2 separate regions of the Homo sapiens genome follow, and region 1 is linked to region 2. The links are contacts of gene promoters, found by promoter capture Hi-C in blood cells and fetal thymus (Javierre and others, 2016). All regions are on one chromosome and are shown on one strand. The core of a region is centred on a gene start or on the middle of the fragment in contact, and the rest is flanking DNA. Distances in the headings are between cores, read along the strand shown. Region 1 has its middle 9.4 kb from the start of KRT17. Region 2 holds the start of KRTAP4-2 (keratin associated protein 4-2).

Region 1 (2,706 bases), core at 152-2,651, 460 kb before region 2:
CACAGATCCTGCTCCTCTGTGGCCTTCCTGGGCTGCCCTCCCCTCCTCCGGGACTGCTCTGGACTGACATTGCTCAGGTTCGGGTGAGGAGGGAGGCTGCCCTAACCCTTTGGCCTCAGACCCCTGCTCCCAGCCCCACCTCTGCTTCCTGTTTTGTTAGAGCCTTACTGACGTCATTATCTCTCCAGATTCCCTCAAAGACTTTGGGAGACAAGACTTGGTCCCCCTTTTACAAACGAGGGAACGGAGGCTCTAGAACTGACTTCCTGAAAGGCTTGGATCCAAAGCTCCCTCAGTTCAGCGGCCACGTCTATTTCCCTCAGACACAGGGATCCTTGAACCTGTGGGCTGTATCTCCCCGCGGACTTGGAAGAATCCCAAGAGAGTGGGGCTCCCACAGGTCAGAGGCTAATTCTGCCTCCTCTGACTGGGAGTCTCCACCAGGGCCACGTTGTACCTGGGCAATGATGTCAGGCCCCGATCTCTCCACCCTTACCCCAGGGCCCTGGAATGCTGGGTGAGGGGCCAGGCCAGCCTCCGGCTCCTGGCCTGTGCAGCCTTGTCCTGTGCCCGTGCTGGCTCCCAGGGCTGGGTTCTCCGGGCTCCCCACAAGAATAAGCTCAGCCTCCTAACTGTGGCTGAGGATGGAGGGTCACCCTACCCCAGGGCTACAGACCAGCACCACCTTTGTTTCTTTCTTTCTTTTTTGAGACAGATTTTTACTCTTGTTGCCCAGGCTGGAGTGCAATGGTGTGATCTCGGCTCACTGCAACCTCCACCTCCCAGGTTCAAGCTATTCTCCTGCCTCAGCCTCCTGAGTAGCTGGGATTACAGGTTCGTGACACCACGCCCAGCTAATTTTTGTATTTTTAGTAGAGATGGGGTTTTGCTATGTTGGCCAGTCTGGTCTCAAACTCCTGACCTCAGGTGGTTCACCTGCCTCTGCCTCTCAAAGTGCTGGGATTACAGGCGTGAGCCACCGTGCCTGGCCACCACCTTTGTGTCTGAACAGACCGCTGAGGCCCTGGTGCTCAGGCTGGGCTCTTGCTATGGAGGGGTCCTTGGGGAGGCTCTCAATATGTCCAGCCTGAGCCCCAGGCCCTGGGTGGGTGGGAGGAGGCAAAATACACTCCTGGGGTTTTGGCCTGAACTTCAAGGGCCAGGGTCCCAGCCCCACTTCAGCCCGGCTGTAACGGGCTACCCAGGGTCTCCATCCAGACCAGACTCTTCACCCGACCCATGGACACCCTGGTTGTCACCACTACCAGCATCTGCCAGTTCTCCACCTCTGGCTCTGTCAAGGGCCTGTGGACACCTGGCGGGGGTTTCTCCTGGATGTCATCTGTCAGTGTTGGGGGTGCCTTTCGCCAGCCTCCTGGGAGTCAGCAGCTGTGGCAACATGTCGGTCACCTCCTCCTGCTTCTTGGTGGGACTTGGGGGAGGCTACAGCGGTGGCTACACCTGTAACCTGGGTGGGGGCTTTGGCTCCAGCGTTGACGTGGCGGATGCCCTGCTGCGGGGGCGGTGAAAAGACCATGCAGAACCTTACTGACCACACACACAGCACACACATACACACAAACACCACACACAACCACACACACACATACACACACACAAACACCACACACACCACACACACCATCACACACATACACACAAACACCACACACACACCACACACGTACACACACAAACACCACACACACCCCACACACATCACACACATACACACACAGAAACACCACACACACACCACACACAGCACACACGTACACACACACAAACACCACACACCATACACATCACACACTACCCCAAACGCCACGCGCCCCACTCACACCTCACACTCCCAGATTCACACACAGGCGCATGCCCACCGATCGATACACACACACTAAAAGACTCCTATATACACATTCACACATAGCTCACAGGCACATCCACATACACACATACTACATACACACACACATACCACACACCTACACATATACCCACCACACCCCCAACACCCCCTCCACACATATTAGTCACACACCCCCCCAAACCCCCCACACCCTCTCCAACACATATACACACCCACCCAAACATACCACACACCACACACACACTCATACACATCACACACTACACAAACATCACACACATACACACCACACACACCACACATACACGCGCACGTACACGCACACACACCACACACACACCACACACATCAGAGACACACAGCACACACACATCACACACATATACACACACAAACACCACACAGACCATACACATACACACATACACGCCACACACACATCACGCACACACCACATATACATCACAGACACACGCAAACACCACACACACACTCCAAACACATCACACACATACACAAACACCACACACACCACACACATACTCACCATACACACCATAGATACATCACACACACACTCACCACACACACCACACACACATACACATACACACAGACACCACACACACACCCCACACCACACATGCCACACATATTCCACACGCACCACACACATACACACTACACACACACCATACACATATATACCCACAACCACCCATGTACCACACACCACACACACCACACGCATATACACACCACACACACAATACACACAGATCTCACACACACATACACACCACACACACATATACACCACACCACATGCATACCAC
Region 2 (2,700 bases), core at 190-2,689:
CCTGGAAATTAGGGCCAGGGCAGGAGTAGGAACTGGCTTGGAACATAGCAGCATCATAAGAACACCACAATTTGATTTATTAGACTTATAAGCACCTGAGAGAAGAAAGGGAATCTCCCTCATTCATCCAATCCCCTCCATCTGGTTCTTGGATCTCCCTCAGAAACACCAGCTTACACTGAAACTCCTCCCCTGATTATCTGCAGAGGCTGCCCAGTTCATAAAACATTTCTATCATGGTAAGTCAGACATTTTTCCACCCCCTTCCCTGGGTTCCTTGACTCCTCAGGGGTGGGGAAATACATATATATTTATTAACTGATGAGTTAATGAATTGACAACATAGCACATTTTTGAAACAATAGTCAGCCATCCCTACATGAAAAAATATAGGCTGATATCCTTTGTTCTTGATACCTGTTTTCTGCTTTCTTTCTCTCTTTATTGATTTATTTTTTGAAAACAAAGATGTAAAGTGTGAAATTGGATCAACAACTTCTATAAGGAAGCAGCAGAGTATAGGACATCTTCAAGGCCCAGCAATTCAGCAGAGAAAGCAAGAGGGCTGGGAGCGAATTAGAGCAAGCAAAGGATACTGAGTCATCTAATTTGGGTTGGCCAGAAAATTTTGGAACCTGGAGAGATGAGCTCATGTGCCCTGTTAGAGCTAGGAAGGCAGAAAGGCAAAGTCACAAGGAAAATCTGCCCCAGGGAGCAAAAAAATGAGGGACTTGGACCTTTAAGTATAGCTGTTCTCTGAAGCCAACATTCCCCAAGAGGCCCTGAATCTGAATTTTGGAGGGTTGTTTCTGTAGAAAAGGAAACATCAAACTTTCACAGCTTAGTTTTCCACCTTAAAACAGCTCTGTATTTCTCATCAGAAGGTCTAGAAAATGGGTCACAATTCAGAGTGCGGAAGATAAAAAAGCGATAGGTCCTACGGTGTTCTCGTTCTCACACCAGTGGTCATCTGTTTCACACTGAAATCTGTTTCACACTGAAACCTTCACAGGCCATCTGACCCATAATGAAGGAGCCATCAGACTGAAATGCAGCTTTATCCTCCTGAGTCACCAGAAAGAGTCAAGGGCCTGTAAGAATAGTAATCACCCAAGAGTAGTCATGATGTGTTAAGCAAATGAGACTGAAGCACATAGTATGTGCTTACAGGCAGATGTCACATGGCTGCTCTAGGAGGAAGCTATAGTAAGAGAGACACAGGAGGTGGTTCAGGAAGAGCTGAGCTAAGGAGTCCTAACACATTAGGGAAAGGAGACAGTGTTTCCATCTATGTGGATAAGTTAACCAGAACAACAAACTTGCCTAATTTGATAATTGCCTACATATCAGGACAAATAATAACAAGGAAAGAGTGTTGCATCTGATGACATCAGGCCTTAGCAGGGTATAAAAGAGGATCTGGGGCAAGGAAACTTCCAAACCTTCCAAACCCACCTTCCTGGAAATCCACCCAGAACCTCCACCCTCTGACACCATGGTCAACTCCTGTTGTGGCTCTGTGTGCTCTGACCAGGGCTGTGGCCTAGAGAACTGCTGCCGTCCCAGCTGCTGCCAGACCACCTGCTGCAGGACCACCTGCTGCCGCCCCAGCTGCTGTGTGTCCAGCTGCTGCAGACCGCAGTGCTGCCAGTCTGTGTGCTGCCAGCCCACCTGCTGCAGCCCCAGCTGCTGCCAGACCACTTGCTGCAGGACCACCTGCTGCCGTCCCAGCTGCTGTGTGTCCAGCTGCTTCAGACCCCAGTGCTGCCAGTCTGTGTACTGCCAGCCCACCTGCTGCCGCCCCAGCTGTGGCCAGACCACCTGCTGCAGGACCACCTGCTACCGCCCCAGCTGCTGTGTGTCCACCTGCTGCCGCCCAACCTGCTCTAGTGGCTCTTGCTGCTGATGCCCTCACCTATACTCACCTGCCTTTATTAACCAGCATTCTTGATATGATCCACCTGTGAACTGAATCATGCAAGGCCAATTGGACAACCTCAGTTCCAACCAATTCTTGGATTGAGTTTGGCCTCCAAATATGCTCACCAAACACTATGTTGCTACCCTCTACCAAATGAATACAAGTTTGAATTTTCTCTGAAATATGTCAACCCCATGTTCCCTGAATTGAAATATTTGCTCTCTACCATAATTTATCACATGGAGCTATTCCTCTATCTTAAATAAATTTTAATTTTTGAGGCATACAAATAATATACGGGCATTGTGTCTCATTTTTCCTTCTTGAATTCTCATCCTTACCTGTCAAATTTTCTGATGTTCTTCCCTGCAGAGGGAGAAGACCACAGCAGATGATATCAGGGGCTCCACCTCTATCCTATCAGCACTCTCCATTCAAACATAGGAAAATGGTTCCTTAGAGCAGGCACCTGGAACTCTCTACCTGAGGACTTTCTCTGGATAAAGGAGCAAACTCTGGGCTGGAGACTTAAAGCCTCTAGGAACAGCACTCAGAGAATGAGTGGGAGTTGGTAATATATGCCCTGGCTTGTTTCCCTCCAGTGGGGGGTATGTCAAACCAGTCTTCCAGAGGTCTTCAGCGGGATTTATACCAGATGCCTGCAGGAACATTCTGATCATGAACTCACTCTATAATGACTTTCCCTCCTTCCCAGGGTCATTCTTCAAGTTTCCTCCAGTGTTTCTTGGGTTAATCGTCCAAATATACCACATGTTCTC

The links. Contacts are between HindIII fragments. The CHiCAGO score rates a contact against its expected background, and 5 or more counts as called.
Region 1: a fragment that was not itself captured here is called in contact with the fragment with the promoter of KRTAP4-2 in region 2 in 1 of 17 cell types (total CD4 T cells); the score reaches 5.5 in total CD4 T cells.

The regions. Positions count from the first base shown.
Region 1 is chr17:41,632,664-41,635,369 of GRCh38, reverse strand. It overlaps the pseudogene KRT42P. Among named protein-coding and RNA genes, the nearest start is that of KRT17, 9.4 kb to the right of the region's middle. The HindIII fragment of the contact is 4,882 bases long and covers 1-2,706 here.
Region 2 is chr17:41,176,960-41,179,659 of GRCh38, reverse strand. It overlaps KRTAP4-2 (keratin associated protein 4-2), which reads left to right and starts at 1,439. Exons shown (of 1, transcript NM_033062.4): 1 at 1,439-2,214. The coding sequence starts at 1,496. The coding sequence ends at 1,906. The HindIII fragment of the contact is 17,641 bases long and covers 1-2,700 here.